Linked DNA regions of Homo sapiens: regions 2 and 3 are each linked to region 1. The links are contacts of gene promoters, found by promoter capture Hi-C in blood cells and fetal thymus (Javierre and others, 2016). All regions are on one chromosome and are shown on one strand. Each heading gives the region's core, a stretch centred on a gene start or on the middle of the fragment in contact. The rest is flanking DNA. Distances are from core to core; before and after follow the strand shown.

Region 1 (3,031 bases), core at 198-2,697:
CGCCTCCCATGGCCCAGAGCTCTTCCTGGTTCAGGCCTCCCAGCCACCTGACCTCATAGCTGATCCAGGCAGTGTGAACCCATTGCTCCCTGGCTAGGAGAGGTGGGGTGTGGATAGGGAGGGTCTCTGACTCTGTCTCTCCTGCCTTAGCAGTCAGTCCAAGGAAGTCTAGCCCAAGGCCTGAGGTCCCACAGCAAGCTGGGGGCAGAGGAGCTGGCCTTGCCCCTCCCACTCCTTCCTGGACCTGGTTCTCAGCCATGCCAAGATCCTGAGCAATGCCCACCCCTCTTCGGCTGCAAAACTATCCCACACACCGGAGGCTAACAGATGGAGGCTTTCTTTAAATCAAAGGCTTATGGGGAGGTGTAGAGTGGGAGCTGACAGCTTCTCCTTGAGGAGCTTCATCTCCAACTGCCCCCACCCCTTTTGCCTGCTGACAACTGTTTCCTTTCTGTCTCACCACACAGACCTGGCCCTGACCATGGCCAGCTCTGTTTGCCTCAGATTCAGGCCCTTTTGAACCATTGTAAGTTGGGGGAAATAAGGTCCCATCGGCAAAGGAGAGGATAAGGGTGCACAGGCCCGATGTGCTGCCCCTCAGCAGACTGCAGATGCCCCCCCCGTCCCCCCCAGCCTTTCCTTCTCAGACAGGAAGGGAAGCTCCGCCTACACACCTGGCAGGAGAGAATGCAGTCACACCAGGAATGTGAGTCTTAGTCTCATCAGGGAGAATCACAGGATTCCAGAATAGAATCCTAAATCCAGCAGTCTGTGACATTCTAGCCAGGAATCTTAGAACCACAGCACAGACTCTCCAAAGAGAAGCCAGGCCAAGAAGAATCCCAGGACTGGAAGGCCTTGTGGGACGTCCCAGGTTTGTCTTGTGTCAATAGCACTGATACTCAATCTCCTACTCCCATCTGTGAGCATGCAGACCCTACTTGCCTTCCCACAGCCTCCCTTTTCATATTTTTCATGTTTCTTTAGCTCTGTCTTCAAGCCTTGTTGCTCCCGCAAAAAAACCTGCCTCTTCCTCCAGTCCTCCCAAGCAGGGGGAACAGTCCTGACACCTTTCCAAGCCCTGGTCCATGGACATTGTGCCCCCTTCTCCCTGCCCATGGTGACCTGCTCCAAAACCCTCAAGGAGAAGGGAGTGTATGTCATTTCCTCCCTGTAAAGTAAAGATAATTTTGCAGGGGACTGTGTGGATGAAATGACATGATGCATGGAAATCCCTTAGCGTGTGCCTGGCATGTAAACTGCAGGTGTCATCATTATTACTGAGGAATACTGAGTCCCGAACATGGCTGTCTCATTGGTGGACTGGGGTCTCCCCCAGGGCATTCATCTACTATGTGTTTATTGCACCCTTTTTCCATGTGAGGCACATGCCAGGGACTGGGCACATGGTATGAACAAGACACAGGTCATCGGTGTCCTCTTGAGCTCCCTGGCTTGGCAGCAGATGCATACCTGGGAAGGATGCTAGGTGAGTGTGGGCAGGAGAAGCATGCAGGGCTCTGAGTGCAGCCTGGTGAGGGTGGGGCTGGAGCAGGGGATGGTGGTGGGCTGAGCCAGGCCATGGTGGAGGTGGGAAAGAACAATGTGGCTCTTTGGTGACTCTGGATGTTTGGGGTGGGAGGACTTCAAGGAGATGTGGGATGATTTGAGGACTGGGGATGGAGGTACTGGGGGCTGAGGCACTAGGCCCACACTCACGAGTATGGACTGCTGTCACTCTTCCTGATATCTGGGGGCCGCAGTTTCTGAAGCAGGATTCGGATGATGCAAATAAACAGGATGAAGTTTACCTAGTGGGTGGGGACCCGAGTTCGGGCAGTCAGAGCGGGAAGGCTGAGGTGTTCAGGCCCCTTGACTGCTGGCCTGTCTTCTTTCCCAGGGTCCTGCTGCCCCTCTCTCTATCTTACCTCTCCTCTGGCATTTCCCCTTTGGGCAGGTCATCCGGGAACTCTACCTCCTTCAAATCCCTAAGGACTGTGCTCCCAATCCGCTTACGCTCAAGGAAGAACTGGTAGGACAGGGGTGGGGATGATCCTGCATTGGGCATTAGGAAGCTACGTTTCAGTTCTGACCTAGATACTAATTTCCCATGTGACCTTGGGCTAAGTTGCCTGCCCTTTGGGCCTGTTTCCCCATCTCTAGGTGGTGGGAGGGTATCTTACCAAGATGGAGGTGAGGATGGGGCCCTTTATGATCCACCACAGTGAGGAGTTGATGGTGTCCCAGCACCTGAGCAGACCGTGGGGAGGAATGAGAGGGATTGTCCTCAGCCAGAGAGAGACTCAGCAGCACCTCCCCCAGTTGTCCCCAGCTCTGCTCCTGAGCACTTTAGCAACCCCGGGCCCAGAGTCTGTTGCTCCCCAGGTCCTCCTCCAGCCTCCCCTCTGGCCCGAGAGCTGTGGTTTTTGTCCACTCACCAAGGCCAGATGGCATTATCATCCCACCCAGGGGGCCTGCCCAAGTGATGGCGGCCGGGGGAGTGTGTGGGGCAGCAGCTCACCCATAATCCTCAAAATGGATCCTGGCGATGGTCCACACCATGGTGAATGTGCTGGGTACCCCTGTCAGGCCCAGGGAGAGTGAAAGAGCAGAGAGGGCACAGGAAGCAGGGGTAGAGGGCATGAGGGAGAGATTTTGGAGAAAAGCAGGGAGAGGGAGGGAGAGAGAAAAGGGTGGGTTGTCAGTCTGCTGTCTTTGGTTGCATAGGTTGTTCACCACGGAGGGATGCTCCACTGAGGGGGTGAAGCTGTATGCCTGAAGGGCTGTGTCTACCTAGACGGACATTCTCTTTCTAATTGTGACAGAGGCCCTTTATAGATTAGCAGTGGCCCTGTGTATTTCGGGAACTAAAGGGAAATGGAAAGATGTTCACAAAATCTGTCCCACAGGTCAGCCCTAGGTGCAGCTGCAACCTGAGGGACTTGTCCTGGGATCAGACATTTTGAGGACTTTCTTGACCCTTGGCTGATATCCTTGCAGGCAGGACCTGCAGCTAAGCAAGACGTAGGAC
Region 2 (3,031 bases), core at 265-2,764, 330 kb after region 1:
GCCTTTCCAACATCAAGCTACAAAACGGTCACAAAACAAATGTCTATTCTGTAGCCTTACCGTGAAGATTAACAAAAAAAAAAATATTCATTAATCCTTCCCCCAAGCATTTCACAGGAAAGCAGACTTTCTGGTATCATCTTGTTATACATCTTTAAGCTGATTAAAATATCATATCAAGGATAGGCATAGGCTCAAGTGGGTAAGCAGAACAGATTTGGAGAACTGTAAGGTCCGCTTTTTTTTTTTGAGACAGAGTCTCACTCTGTCACCCAGACAGGAGTGCAGTGGTGCAATTATCAGCTTGCTGCAACCTCCACCTCCCGGGTTCAAGCGATTCTCCTGCCTCAGCCTCCTGAGTAGCTGAGATTACAGGTGCATGCCACCATGCCCAGCTAATTTTTTGTATGTTTAGTAGACATGGGATTTTGCAATGTTGCCCAGGCTGGTCTCAAACTCCTGAGCTCAGGCAATCCTCCCGCCTCGGTCTCCGAAAGTGCTAGGATTATAGGCGCGAGCCACCACGCCCGGCCAGGTCTGTATTTTTCAGGTGACTCTCATCTACCTCCCTCTTAATAATTACTGAGCCTGCAGACAATCCATACTACCACTCCTCACCCCAAAACAGAGAAGTGAAAACTCCCAGCTTGCTCACCCCAGGTCGGCTGCCTCTGTTTCCAGAATGATGCTGTTGGTCTTGTTGTCGAGGACGACGTTGCCTATGTCGCTGCCGTAGAAGCTGGACCGGGGGGTGCTGACGCAGCTGGACAGGAGGGAGTTCATGGCCGAGGACTGGTTGGAGCCGGGGATGTTCATGGGAGAAGGGGTCAGAGATCTCTGCTTGACAACCTGGTTGATGTTTCTTACTGTCTCAAAGACACGCTTCTGGTGACTAGGGAGAATGCACGGCATCCGTGAGTGAGCAAATGCGGGCACAACCCTGGAGTTTAACCCTCCAAAAATGATCAACTGAGCCAAAAGGGCACCTGGCCTATGACGAGTCCCCCAGCAGCCTGCTATCCTGTGCCTGCCACCTGTTTCTTAGGGTATTGGCTGCCTCCTTCACAATGCGAAATTTGAGAGATTCAACACCCACTAAACCCAGGACTCGAACGCATGGTTGTATCCTAAAGGTGATGCCAGCAAGAGTGAAATTGTGTTTCACATCCCTAAAGCTTAACCCACAAATAAAAATACTTAAGTATGACTTTTGTCTCCTAGATTTCTTTTTTCATAATATTCACTAGAATAAACGCTGCAGCAGGGCAGTGTTTACTGCTCAGCGCAGCAGAAATCAATCAATACTTGTAGAATGGATATTTGTTGAACATTCATATAAAAAAAGGAAGACTTCAAGTTAGTCTTTCACTTCTATAATAAGATGATAAATACTAGATTTGTCTAATTTTGGAAAGTGTTATTTTAGGAGCAGAACCACTTTGATGCTCATTTGTTCCCTTTTAAAGAGAAAAGGGTAGGCATGTTTTTACAATGGCCACTTCCTTCTGGGCTGCAGAGGGTGTCACACATATACCAAACCTCACTTGGACACTTGCCACTCCCAGGATCTCATTTAAGTTCTGTCTATGGAGTCTGAGTACACAGAAAACACAATGAAACCTGGTCCACATGTTCCTTACAAACACCTTGGGGCAGGTTAAGTACAAGAGTTGAGGTAGGAAGACAGATGGTAGAAGCTCATATCCCTAGGTGTATTCAGATGGAGATGGAAGCCTTGCACAAAATCTTTGAAGACCCCTCTGAATCTCACACTACGTTGATTTTAAATTTTTTAAATGTTTTCCACTGAAAGGAAAGATAAAAACGTGTAGCTATATCAAGACAAAGCTTGTGTTAAGAGAGATGGGAAAGACATCTCTCCTTTTCTAGGACTTTCTGGAAGTTCACAATTTGTCTTTAAAACCTAAGAAGAAGAGGAGCACAGTGGCTCACAGGCCAGTGGTGGCTCACGCCTGTAATCCCAACACTTTGGGAAGGCCAAGGCAGGACGATCACTTGAAGCCAGGAGTTTGAGATCAGCCTGAGCAACATGGTGAAGCCCTATGTCTACAAAAGATTTTTTTAAATTAGCTGGAAATGGTGGCATGCGCCTGTAGTCCTAGCTACTCAAGAGGCTGAGGCAGCAGTATTACTTGAGCCTAGGAGTTCGAGGCTGCAGTGAGCTATGATCACACCACTGCACTCTGGCGTGCCCAATAAAGTGAGACACCCCATCTCTAAAAAATAAATAAATAAAAATTAACACTAACAAAAGATAATAAGAGGAGCTGAGGGATGCTGTCAGCTGTGTTCTATTATTTCCCTTAATCTGGACTGGGAAGGACAATAGTCAATCACTGTCGGTACCCAGAGCCTCAACATTGCTAGGTTTTGAACACTGCACTGGTCCAAGTTGGTCTCTGGGAATCTCAAAACTGTAAAAACTGTGGCCGTACGTGATGTCTGGAGACTCGGCCTCTTCCAACTGCAGCTCCTTGCGCATCGTTCCCTCAATCTCTGCTGCCAAGGAATCCTGGGAAAAGCCAGAAAGACAAATGTCAAGTGAGCGCCAATTCAAATGCTCTGTCTCTAAAAGAGGTATGCACCCAGGTGGGCCATGGAGAGTAAACCAAGGCATCAGAAGCTCACGGTCTTCCCACAACACAAACTTAACAGCACTCTCTGTTGTCAGAGACCCTGGCTGAGCAGTTTCCCAGGCAGGTTCTGAGTGTGGCAGTGCCACTGGGCACTGAGTGTAAAGCTGCTGACTCATATGCCATTAGGTGTCTAAAAGCAAACCCTATGCTCCGTTGGCCAAACCATGGAGCTGTAACCATGGCTACGAGATGGGATGCAGAACTTATGAGGGAGGGGTGATGTGTTCAGAATGATGGAGACAGGTGAATTTCCAAATACCTCTGAGCTTACAGTGAGATATGGCAACAGAGCCCATACAAGCCACACAAAGCTATTGTCCCCCTAGTCTACAGGGTCTGTCACACCCCCTCTGTGTCTAAGATTCTGACACCAA
Region 3 (3,031 bases), core at 324-2,823, 270 kb after region 1:
AGGAAGGGGTCAATGCTGAGAATGCCTGAGATCTGGCTACAACAGTTTAAAAAAGCAGTGACAATGTGTCCATTTCCACCAAAGTATGTAACAGAAGGAAAGAATCAGCAGCAGTTTTGTGTTCTCCTTGCAATGACTTACAAATTATTACCCAACAAGAGAGGTATTTGTTTTTACTTTACTGTTGCAGAGATGGTCACAGTTGTAGCAAGAGCTGAGCAAGTCAGTTTTCTCAGCATCAAAGTCTTTCTCCAGGAATAAGGTGATTCAGCAGCTCACTAGCCGAGTGGCATGCAGGCAATTCTGACCTGAGGCTAGCTTTCCCCTAAGCTCCTTCCAATTCTTTGTGTGATTCAGAGGGAGGCCCATTCATCTCTTGTGACCCATAGGAATCATGCTTTGGATTGGGGCAGCTTTTTTCTGCCAACTTTATCCCCAGTGACACTAATGATGAACACCGGCTGTGGAGCAGTGTGCTGAACAGTACAAACACAGCTGGACATTAAAAGAATTCAGCAGGCCAGGAGCAGTGGCTCACACCTGTAATCCCAGCACTTTGGGGGGCTGAGGCAGGTGGATCACATGAGGTCAGGAGTTCGAGACCAGCCTGACCAACATGGTGAAACCCCATCTCTACTAAAAATACAAAATTAGCTGGGCATGGTGGCACATGCTTGTAATCCCAGCTACACGGGAGGCTGAAGCAGGAGAGTAGCTTGAACTCGGGAGGTGGAGGTTGCAGTGAGCCGAGATTGTGCCATTGCACTCTGGCCTGAGCAACAAGAGTGAAACTGTCTAAAAAAAAAAAAAAAAAAAAAAAGAACTTAGCAAACACTGCTGGAAGGGATGTGGTAGGTGTGTTGCCTTTTCCATGAAGCTCTCTTACCCAACTGGTGTTCCAGGGCCTGGATTTGAACCTTAACCCCTGGCTTGACCAGAGAGGGATAAGATGAAGAGTTTTGGCTCTGCAGAGTTCTTCTGTGGGTTCACATGAAGGGAAGACTGGAACTCTGACCCAGAGGCTTCAGAAGGAAAGAACAAATCAGTGATTTGTTGTATTTCTTCCTGTCTTTGGGAAATTGCCCCACCCACCACCTTGTGTTTTGCTTTCCTGCTAATTAAATTGAAAAAGATAGAAATACTTCTCAGATGGAGAGAGAAAGTCTGAAAGCTTTTGAGTTCCTGCTGATTCTCTGCCTGAAAATAATTTAGTATCTGTCCCCAGATACAGGCTGAATTTCAGCCAGACCAGTCTGAAATATCCTAGGCTTTTCATTTAACTGTGGACCTGGACTCCCCTCCTCCAATTTAGGAAAGACCCTGGTTTTTCTTCTATGTAGGCTGAGGATATCTGCAAAAAGGCCTGAAATGTGCCGAATTGAGTCTTGGTTCCAAAATTGCTCTAGGGAAAAAAAAGAAAAAAAAAAAAGCTCATTACCAAATTATTTCCTAGAACCAATACTAGACAATGGCTCTTATAGCATAAATCTTAGCTGGAAAGTTCTTTCTAGTCCCTCTTCTCAGCCCCCCTCTCCCTTTGCCTTCAGCCAATTGTGCCAAACAAACCCAGGAGGGAATAGCAATCACTTGGAAATTTAGATGCCAACACCTAGGATCAACTCTAGCTAAAAAACAAGCAAACTCTTCTATGTGACAAACATGAACTAGGACTAAATACTTACACATATAGATACTGCACAGTTTCTATATGTGCAGTATATAGAATATTTTACATATTTTGAATATTTTACATATTTTGAGATCATATCAGATTTTTGCTCCACTATAGTATATATTATTCTTAAAAGTTCTAAACAAGACAATGCATTCTTTGAGCAGTACTTAAGAGTTTATCATTAGGAAATATCTGCAGCACTTTCAATGGCCCAAGAAGAAACAATTCTATTGGAGGGCAGTGGGTAAAGATATCTAGAGGCATTTAGTGTGCGCCTCCCCCATGCCCAGCAAAGCTTCAATGCTACATCTATATTGTCTTTCTCAGTACAACAGCCCTGCACAGTGAATATTATTATACCCATTTTGCCAGTGTGGAAGCTGGGGCTCTAAAAGCCTGAGTAACCTACATGCAGTTGCATATCTACGCAACAGCAGGGCTGAGACTCTATCTAGTCCTGCTCCCCCCAGGAGGGCCTGGAAGCCATTCAGCTTCCTAGCTGTACTGCCTATTCCACATTTTAAAGTTTAAAAGAGCTAAACCCTTCAGTTTTAGCAAGAGCTAAGAAAGTCACTGTTTTCTCAGCACCAAAGTCTTTCTCCAGGAATAAGGTGATTCAGCAGCCCACTAGCTGAGTGACATGCAGACAGTCCCGAGGCTAGCTTTCCAATAAGCCCCTTCCAATTCTTTGTGTGATTCAGAGGGAGGCCCGTCCATCTCTTGTGGCCCATAGGAATCAGGCTTTGATCAATTCCATACATCAGATGTAAGCCCCTACTCTATGTCAGCACTGGGAAAGTGAGTGAGGACCCTGGTAAATACACATGACATGAGGACAGAACTGTACGTGGAACGGGGAAGTCAGGGTGTGTGATAAATGCAGCTTCCATGACTGAACATGGTGCCCCCACCGTTAACTGAGGCTGCTTGCTCGTATTGAAGCTGTCACCTTGCTTCCATTAGATGGAAATTTGGGTTGTGCCCAGGCCTTAGAGTGGGCACTCATCATCACAGCAGGCAGAAGGATGGGTCATGTTTCCATGTGACTGTGTACAGGTAACTGGGTCTATAGGTTTTCCTGAATTCAAGGGTAATATTTCACCTGAATGATGAACAATTAAATAGCAGGGGCTATTTTTCTTCTACGTAGGCTGAGGATATCTGCAAAAAGACCTGAAATGTGCTGAATTGACTGTTGGTTCCAAAACTGGGAAGGGTTGGGGTTGGGGAGAGAAAGGGTGGGGACGTTGTTCTGTGTTGTTTCTGTTTTTAATTAAACTTGCTTAATTTCATTACCCAGGGTAACTGCCTTTGCATTTTCATTTATCAACACATAAGCCATAGTCTGACTCTACT

What was found. The method cuts DNA at HindIII sites, captures the fragments that hold promoters and counts their contacts. A CHiCAGO score of 5 or more calls a contact.
Region 2: a fragment that was not itself captured here is called in contact with the fragment with the promoter of VIPR1-AS1 in region 1 in 1 of 17 cell types (M2 macrophages); the score reaches 5.1 in M2 macrophages.
Region 3: a fragment that was not itself captured here is called in contact with the fragment with the promoter of VIPR1-AS1 in region 1 in 2 of 17 cell types (M2 macrophages and endothelial precursors); the score reaches 8.3 in M2 macrophages.

The regions. Positions count from the first base shown.
Region 1 is chr3:42,531,022-42,534,052 of GRCh38, reverse strand. VIPR1-AS1 (VIPR1 antisense RNA 1) reads left to right here and starts at 1,447. Exons shown (of 3, transcript NR_046654.1): 1 at 1,447-1,489; 2 at 1,958-2,032. It overlaps VIPR1 (vasoactive intestinal peptide receptor 1), which reads right to left. Exons shown (of 13, transcript NM_004624.4): 8 at 2,522-2,582; 9 at 2,184-2,250; 10 at 1,720-1,811. RefSeq lists an enhancer at 173-674. The HindIII fragment of the contact is 10,773 bases long and covers 1-3,031 here.
Region 2 is chr3:42,198,679-42,201,709 of GRCh38, reverse strand. It overlaps TRAK1 (trafficking kinesin protein 1), which reads right to left. Exons shown (of 16, transcript NM_001042646.3): 11 at 2,457-2,533; 12 at 656-892. Among named protein-coding and RNA genes, the nearest start is that of CCK, 66 kb to the left of the region's middle. The HindIII fragment of the contact is 673 bases long and covers 1,178-1,850 here.
Region 3 is chr3:42,260,007-42,263,037 of GRCh38, reverse strand. The region is part of intron 4 of CCK (cholecystokinin); the gene reads left to right. Among named protein-coding and RNA genes, the nearest start is that of CCK, 4.7 kb to the left of the region's middle. The HindIII fragment of the contact is 799 bases long and covers 1,174-1,972 here.